Linked DNA regions of Homo sapiens: regions 1 and 2 are each linked to region 3. Evidence: promoter capture Hi-C in 16 types of primary human blood cells and fetal thymus (Javierre and others, 2016). All regions are on one chromosome and are shown on one strand. Each heading gives the region's core, a stretch centred on a gene start or on the middle of the fragment in contact. The rest is flanking DNA. Distances are from core to core; before and after follow the strand shown.

Evidence for each region. The method cuts DNA at HindIII sites, captures the fragments that hold promoters and counts their contacts. A CHiCAGO score of 5 or more calls a contact.
Region 1: a contact is called between a fragment that was not itself captured here and the fragment with the promoter of HAS3 in region 3, in 1 of 17 cell types (endothelial precursors). The highest score is 6.0, in endothelial precursors.
Region 2: a contact is called between a fragment that was not itself captured here and the fragment with the promoter of HAS3 in region 3, in 2 of 17 cell types (endothelial precursors and megakaryocytes). The highest score is 7.2, in endothelial precursors.

Annotation. Positions count from the first base shown.
Region 1 is chr16:68,951,780-68,954,658 of GRCh38, reverse strand. All of the region lies in intron 14 of TANGO6 (transport and golgi organization 6 homolog), which reads right to left. Among named protein-coding and RNA genes, the nearest start is that of TANGO6, 110 kb to the right of the region's middle. The HindIII fragment of the contact is 6,801 bases long and covers 1-2,879 here.
Region 2 is chr16:68,930,395-68,933,250 of GRCh38, reverse strand. The region is part of intron 14 of TANGO6 (transport and golgi organization 6 homolog); the gene reads right to left. Among named protein-coding and RNA genes, the nearest start is that of TANGO6, 88 kb to the right of the region's middle. The HindIII fragment of the contact is 4,573 bases long and covers 1-2,856 here.
Region 3 is chr16:69,104,369-69,107,444 of GRCh38, reverse strand. It overlaps HAS3 (hyaluronan synthase 3), which reads right to left and starts at 1,792. Exons shown (of 4, transcript NM_001199280.2): 1 at 1,658-1,792. RefSeq lists a silencer at 1,166-1,445 and an enhancer at 1,579-2,127. The HindIII fragment of the contact is 7,234 bases long and covers 1-3,076 here.

The DNA of each region.
Region 1 (2,879 bases), core at 374-2,873, 150 kb after region 3:
GGCTTAAGGAGAGACTGAATTCTCCATCAGTGGTGAAGAGGTGAGGAAGGGTGTGTATGTGGCATGACACATGAAATGTGGTATAAAACTTTCTCGCTAGGCACGTACATAGCCTGACAGTGAGTTCTCAAAACTTTTTTTTTCTTTTGAGCAGCAGAACTTTGTTTTTCCATGAAATCTTAAGAGAGGGCTTGATGAAAGAGAGAAAAGGAGAGCCATCTGGTTAGAGTGGGTTGCCTGGTGCTCCAAACCCACTCACCCATGCCCCTCCTTACTGATCCTAAGGGTCTGGAGGGCACAGGCGTTCATGCAGTTCTTGCCTCCTGCTCCTCCCTGCTGTAGTCCTGCTGCTTTGCTGTTTCGCATCCTACAACACTCTTTCCTCCTTCCTTTTTTTTTTTTTTTTTTTGAGATGGAGTCTTGCTCTGTTGCTCAGGCTGGAGTGTAGTGGCACGATCTCAGCTCACTGCAACCTCTGCTTCCTGGGTTGAAGCAATTCTCCTGCCTCAGCCTCCCAAGTGGCTGGGATTACAGGCACACACCACCACACCCAGCTAACTTTTCTTTTTTTTTGTATTTTTAGTAGAGACGAGGTTTCACCATGTTGGCCAGGCTGGTCTCGAACTCCTGACCTCAAGTGATCCGCCCACCTCGGCCTCCGAAAGTGCTGGGATTACAGGCATGAGCCACTGTGCCTGGTCTCCTCCCTTCTTTACTAGGTTAATTCCTAACTACCCACAGATCCTCACTGATGGGTTACTGCCTCGTTCCCTTGCTGTCAGGGAAAATGTCCCTAAAACATGTTTAGTGAAGCAATTAAATACATCTTAATTTCATGGTTTCTGGGGCTCATTTCAAGTCCTTCTCCTCCTATTCATATAGACTAGCTGTCACAAAGGCGGGTTTCACGACCAAGAAGACAGTATGAGATACCTCCAGGTAGAGTCAGTTGCTTAAATGTCTACTTTACAAGCTATTAAGGAGGTCTAAGTATCTTCCCTACAGAACGGCTATTTAAATTTTGCCCTGGAGCCACCCTTTATCTAGTAAAGTTGGAATCTGAAGGCAAGTTAAGGAGGATGGAGTTAGTGAGAGAACACCATGTACCTTTTATTTAGAGCACCTGTGTCAAAACCATGTTTTACATTTGTGTGATTTTGTATCATTTGCTCTTCTCCAACTGTAAACTCCATGAAGGCAAGACATGACTGTTTTTCTCAGTGTTGTACCTTGCACAGCACCCTCAAACATAGCAGTGCTCAATAAATATCTGTTGAGGCGGGTGCAGTGGCTCACGCCTATAATCCCAGCACTTTGGGAGGCCGAGGCAGGTGTATCACCTGAGGTCAGGAATTCGAGATCAGCCTGGCCAACATGGCGAAACCCTGTCTCTGCTAAATACAAAAAACTAGCCAGGCGTGGTGGTGCGTGCCTGTAATCCCAGTTACTCAGGAAGCCGAGGCAGGAGAATCGCTCGAACCTGGGAGGCAGAGGTTGCAGTGAGCCAAGATTGTGCCACTGCACTCCAGCTTGGGAGACAGAGCAAGACTCCGTCTCACACACACAAAATAATAATAATAATAATAATAATAATAATAATAATAATAAAAAATACCTGTTGAGTGAATGAACATTTTAAGCCATTAACAACAACAACAAAAAGAAAACCCTAATTGCCAAAGAAAATATTTTACAATTCTCTTTTTGTCCCTATTTAAAGGTTATCAATAGTGGAAAACAAAAGTTGAACACAAAGTACAAAAGTGATTCTAAAACAGCTTTCTCCTAAGAAACACCTTAGCAATCATGTCCCAGCAGGTGGACAGAGAGATGACCTAATGAGGTCTTTGGCAGCTCAAGGGGTTGTGATTCATTCCCTGAGGCTCAATTCATTCCCAACCTTCAATCCTCCTCTGGGGCAGGAGAGATACCACAAGGTCAGGAAGCACAAAAGCCTAATGTAAAAATCTAAAAATGTGTTGCCCAAACTGTACAGACACCATTTAAGTTTACCTTCCACCACTGCCAAGTTCTCAACGTGACCTGAGAGGGGGTAATTGATGCTTCATTCAGTTAAAAATTGTAAAGTTATGATTCACCAACAAAAGGAACTATGTCAGTGTTAATAAAAAATATAATTGGGCTTACTAAGTGTGTGAACAGCTTCAAGTATCATCTTAATCACATCTGGTGAGATTAGGAATTTTAATTTGTATTTGAGATGAAGGGTGACATAGGCTGCTTGCTCTTTAGTTGGGGAGGGAAACACAAAAGCAGGGTGCACCTCTAGCTGATACTGCAATAAAGCTCCAGTAAAAACCATGGATTACTTAGAGAGTGTGGGATGCTGTATTTAAGGGGAAGTCTGAAGAGGGACTTGCTGTTTTACTTACAAGCTCTCTCACTACTCCATCCTCCTTAACTTGCCTTCAAATTCCAACTTTACTAGAGAAAGGGTGGCTCCAGGGCAAAATTTAAATCGCTGTTCTGCAGGGAAGGTACTTAGACCTCCTTAATAGCTTGTAAAGTGGACATTTAAGCAACTGACTCTTTACCTGGAGGTATCTCATGTTGCCTTCTTGGTCATGAATCCTGCCTTTGTGACAGCTAGTCTATATGAATAGGAGGTGAGGGACTTTAAAGGAGCCCCAGAAGCCATGAAATTAAGAAGTATTTAATTGCTTCACTGAAAATGTCATGATCCATGGTTCCATGGTTTAATTTTACCATCCGTAAGAGCAGAGGCTGGCCAGGTGTGGTGGCTCACGCCTGTAATCTCAGCACTTTGGGAGGCCGAGGCGGGTGGATCACAAGGTCAGGAGATCGAGACCATCCTAGCTAACACGGTGAAACCTCGTCTCTACTAAAAATACAAAAAA
Region 2 (2,856 bases), core at 313-2,812, 170 kb after region 3:
CAGGGACAGGGTTTCACCATGTTGATCAGGCTGGTCTTGAACTCCTGACTTCAGGTGATCCAACCACCTCGGCCTCCCAAAGTGCTGGGATGATAGGCGTGAGCCACAGAGTAGTTTGTTAAATATCAATAACTGACAGAATCGGCCTACTCAGGCTTCAGATCTGAGAAGTTACAGAGATCACCACATTATTACCTAGTCATCCAACAGTAGACGTAATAGTGAAGATTCTGATGATGATAACAACACTAAAATATTAATAGCTAACACATATTGAACACTGTGCTAAGCAGTTGCAAGGAATTAACTCATTTAATCCTAATATTAAGCCCCCTTTTTATTAATAAACATTTTATGATAGAATAGTAAACTAATATTGACACTTTATTATCAACTGAAGTTTATAATTTATTCAAATTTCCTTAGTTTTCCCCTAATGTCCTTTTTTTTTCTTTTTTTCTGAGACGGAGTCTCACTCTGTTGCCCAAGCTGGAGTGCAGTGGTGCAATCTCGGCTCACTGCAACCTTGGCCTCCTGGGTTCAGGCAATTCTCGTGTCTCAGCATCCCAAGTAGCCGGGATTACAGGTGCCCGCCACCACACCTGGCTAACTTTTTTTGGTGTTTTTTTGTAGAGATCAGGTTTCACCATGTTGGCCAGGCTGGTCACAAACTCCTGATCTCAAGTGATCTGCTTGCTTCGGCCTCCCAAAGTGCTTGGGATTACAGGCATGAGCCACTGCTCCCGGTCCTAATGTTGTTTTTCTATTTCAGAATCCCATCTATCACATTACATTTAGTCATCATATTTCCTTATGCTCTGACAATTTTAGCCCTCTCCCCTTTAATTAAATTTTATTTTGGCCAGGTGCGGTGGCTCACGCCTATCATCTTAGGACTTTGGGAGGCCGAGGCGGGTGGATCACCCAAGGTCAGGAGTTCGAGACCAGCCTGACCAACATGGAGAAACCCCCGTCTCTACTAAAAATACAAAATTAGCCAGGTGTGGTGGCACATGCCTGTAATCCCAGCTACTCGGGAGGCTGAGGCAGGAGAATCGCTTGAACCCGGGAGGCGGAGGTTGCAGTGAGCTGAGATTGTGCCATTGCACTCCAGTCTGGGCAACAAGAGTGAAACTCCGTCTCAAAAAAAAAAAATTTTTTTTATTGTATTTTTTTGATAATAGTTTTATTGAGCTATAACTCACATACCATACAACTCACCCATTTAAAGTTCGTAACTCGGCTGGGCGTGGTGGCTGATGCCTGTACTCAGGAGGCTGAGACACAAGAATCGCTTGAACCCGGGAGGCGGAAGTTGCAGTGAGCCAAGATTGTGCCACTGCACTCCAGCCTGGGCGACAGAGTGAGACTCCATCTTAAAAAAAAAGTGCATAACTCAATGGTTTCCTAGCATACTCACAGAGCTGTGCAAGAATCTGGGAACATTTTCATCACCCCAAAAAGAAGTCTTGTATCCTTTACCTATCACCCTCAACTATCTCTCCTTTACCCCAGCCCTAGGAAAGCACTAATCTATTTTCTGTCTCTAAAAAACTGCCTATTCTGGATATTTCATGTAACTGGAATCATATAAAATATAGTATTTTGTGGCCAGTTTCTTTCACTTACCATGTTTTCAAGGTTCGTCCATATTGTGGCATGTATCAGTCCTTCATTTTTATAGCCAATAATATTCCATTGCATATATATACCACATTTAGTTTATCCATTCATCAACTGATGGTTGTTTGAGCTATTTCCACCTCTTGGTTATTGTGAATAATACTGCTGTGAACATTCACACACAAGGTTTTGTGCAGACATATGTTTTCATTTATCGGGTATATTCCTGGGAGTGGAATTGCTGGGCCAAGTAGTAACTCTATGTTTATCTTTTCGAGGAACTGCCAGACTGGTTTCCAAAGTGGCAGTACCATTTCACATTCCTATTTAGTCCCCTTTTCACAGATAACAAAAAATTGAAGCCCACAGGGATTAAGTAATTTGCCAACGCATGGTAATGGGATGGCCAACCCAGGTGGTCTGTTGACTGTACCTCGCTGATGGAGCCAAGGGAAACTGAGTTAACTCTGACCTCACCATGTCTGCTTCTGGACCTTTTGGGAAGGGTGCCTTATTCTCTACATCCTCTCTAGATTTGGAGCCCACAAGTTAAAGGGGATGTGGAGAACAACAAAGAACCATAAAAAGAGAAATAAAGTTACTGCAAAAAATTTTTTGATAAGAAAATATTTAATACCCTGAGTTCTTTTAGCTTAACGAGAGAGCAAAGGTGCATATAGACAGTAGTTGAGGCTGGGCGTGGTGGCTCACGCCTGTAATCCCAGCACTTTGGAAGGCCAAGGTGGGTGGATCACTGGAGGTCAGGAGTTCGAGTCCAGCCTGACTAACATGGTGAAACCTTGTCTCTACTAAAAATATAAAAAATTAGCTGGGCGTGGTGGCGGGCACCTGTAATCCCAGCTACTTGGGAGGCTGAGGCAGGAGAATCACTTGAACCCGGGAGGCAGAGGTTGCAGTGAGCTGAGATCACACCACCGCACTCCAGCCTGGGTGACAGAGCGAGACTCTGTCTCAAAAAAAAAAAAAAAAAAGACAGTAGCCGACTAACATAAAAGGTTAATGTGATAAGAGTTCATGTGTGAGTCATTCTTTACCTCCTTGAATTAGAGGAAATACGATTTAATCTACAGAATATGTAAACATTAATAAAAACTTCCTCATCATTATGAGACACTGAAACTCTATAGGGACTCTTTGGAAACCCTTCAGGAATATTATTATTATGACTTAAAGTGTCCTAGCTAGGAGGCAGGAAGACGGACAAAATGACCA
Region 3 (3,076 bases), core at 543-3,042:
ACGGAAAACCCAAGGGATCCCAGTCGGACCAGGCCCTGCTCTTCCTGGTACCCCAGCTACCTTGGCAAAGTGTGCCTGTAGACAAAGGCGCATCCCCGGTGTAGCCGGCCCTCTCCTTCCCTGGGCGGGACCCCTCCCCCGCAGGAATTAGAGGCATTACCCAGGTTACTACCCCCACCCCCAAATAGAGGCCCCCAAAATGTCCCTCAGCCAGATACCCCACGTGCAATCAGGCGCTGGTGCAGGCTGTGGTCGAGGTTCTCCTGCCCAGACCTGGGGCGGGGGGCTGTGTCACCCCAAGCCGGCAGAGGCTGTGGGGTGATCCTACAGCCTGGACCGCCGCCTCCTCATGCCCTTCGCTCATCCACGGGAGCCCAGCCCAGGCAAACTAACGCGCACTCGGCTTTCAAGGGCACAAGGTTGGGGGCGCTCTCAAGTCCGGCTCCCAGGACTACGGAAGGAGAACCCCCAGTCAAGGACGCACGCTTCTCCATCAAGCCTCCGAAACTTTGAGGGGCTGCTGGTGTGCAGCGTCTCTCCCGCTGACAGGTGCGCCCCGCGGCAGGGCCACACGCAGCGGCATGGAAACTTGTGCGCCCAACGGGGCTCCTCCTCTTGTGCCCGGCCGCCCTCCGGGCCCCTCCAGGCCGGCCAGGGGAGGGGAGCCCACTCCCCCGGACACGTGCTGCCGCGGCCCGGCTAACCCGCAGGAACGTGGGCGCCTGGTACCTTGGTGCCCGGACAGGTGCAAACCCCCGGGAGGTCGTAGAAGGTGCGGGGGAGGGGTACCCCAGCCAGCCTGGAGCCCCGCACCGGCGTCCGCCTCCTAATTCATTCACAAAACAGGAGCCGCCGGGGAGGAGGGAGGCGAGGCTGGAAGAGGAGAGGATGCAGGAAGAAAGGGAGGAGGGGTCAGTGGGGAGGGGGCTGCAGGAACGGCCGCCGGGAAGCCCGGGGCTGCCGCCGCCCCCAACCCGCCTCCCCGCGCCGGACGCGGCGCCCGCAGGGCTGGGAGCTGGCCGGGTGCGGGGGGCTCGGCGAGAGGCACCCCTGCCACCCGGCGCGCCCCGGCCTCGGCGCAGCCCCGCGCGGCCCTCCCCTCCTGGGTGCCGGCCGGCCCGCGCTCACCGTGCCGCCGGCTGCCGCGCTCCGGAGCTCAGCAGGCCCGCGGCGGCTCCATGCCCCTCCTCCCGCTCCGCTCCGCGCCGCCGCGCGCTCCGACTGCCGCCTGCCCAGCCGAGCCGCCCTTAAGTACCCGGCGCGTGCCCGCCAGGAGAGGCGCCTCCCCCGGCCCTGGGGCCGGGAAAGTTGACCAGAGTGGGAGGGCCCCCGCGGGCGCACCCCCGACCCCGCGCGGTCCCAGGGAGCGCCACAAGCCAGCGCTCGGCGGGGACGCCTAGTCCCGGGTGGACGCGGCTCCGGCTCGCAAGACTCGCAGCCCCTGCGCCCTCTCCGAAGCTGGGTCCCCCGAGTGGGGCCGAAGGCCACGCGGCTCTGCAATCGCCCTGGGACCAGCTGCCAAGGCAAGACGGTCATTGGGCTCAACCTAGAACCTGAAGCGTCGTTAACTTTCCAGATACCACGCAGGGACTTCCAAAATTGTTACTCTCCCTCCCCGCCCCCACGCCCCGCTCTCTAACCCGCAAAACCTACTCACCCTGCAAGGAAGGCGAGCTGAGAGCACTCTTCCCCGACTTCTGCACGCGAAGGGGCAGTTCGCTGTCTAGGGGGCTCCCGAAAGCCAAGGCAGCAAAACCTTCCTGCTGGCAGGAAAGAGGCGCTGAAGAGAATTGTCAAATGTAAAAAGGCTGGTCAAAGAAGGTGTTAACAATTGTGACAGCTTAGCTTTGAATTCCGCAGTGGGGCGCTGATGACTTTAAGGCGGTTTGCAAAAGCTGCAAACGGTTTTGTAGGAACCTTGGAGGTTCCGGTGTCTTAAAGCCAAAACAATTCCTCCTCTTCTTTTTCACACCTTTATTTCCGACATCCATGACCTCCTAAATTCCCAACTGACCTTATCGACAGTAGTTTTCAGGTCCCTAAAAGATAGTGCTAGACTCGAGTAAAGTGAGATGAAGTGAGTTGGGGTGCACTGGGGTGGGGTGAGATCGAGGAGGGGGGAGAGTTGTTAGCAGAGACAAGAAGTTTAGAACCAGCTGAAGGCGATGAGTTTTTACATCTCAGGAAAACTTGAAGAGAAATTATAATTAATAACTAGTTTTTAAAAAATGAGTGGCCGGGCGCCGTGGCTCAAGCCTGTAATCTCAGCACTTTCGGCGTTACGGGCACCATGCCCGTAATCCCAGCTACTCGGGAGGCTGAGGCAGGAGAATCGCTTGAACCCCGCAGGTGGAGGTTGCAGTGAGCTGAAATCGCACCACTGCACTCCAGCTTGGGCAGCAGAGCGAGACTCCGTCTCCAAAAAAAAAAAAAAAAAAAAAAAAAAAAAAAACCAAAAAACAGAGTTTACCTGTTTTCCAAATACACCTGATATAATTTCTATCACTTCTTCCCAAGCTGCAACAAATTTATAGGCACCTGAGCTGCAGTCTATAAACTTCTCCTCTCGCAAGTTTTAGGGGCTCAGGGACTTGCCTGCCCACCATTGCTCAGTCTGGGCCACAGACCTCACACCTCAGTCCCCGCAGGCAAGCAAAGACCCCAGGCACACCTACTCCACACAATCCCATCTTACATTATTGGCCAGGCACAGTGGCTCACACCTGTAGTCCCAGCACTTTGGGAGGCTGAAGATGGAGGATCGCTTGAGGCCAGGAGTTCAAGACCAGCCTGGGCAACAAAGCGAGACTTCCCCCGTCTCTACAAAAATTAAAATTAAAAAATTAGCCAGGGCCGGGTGCAGGCTCACGCCTGTAATCCCAACACTCTGGGAGGCCGAGGTGGGCGGATCACGAGGTCAGAAGTTAGAGACCAGCCTGGCTAATATGGTGAAACCCTATCTCTACTAAAAAATACAAAAATTAGCCAGGCATGGTGGCACGTGCCTGTAGTCCCAGCCACTGGGAAGGTTGAGGCAGAAGAATCGCTTAAACCCAGGAGACAGAGGTTGCAGTGG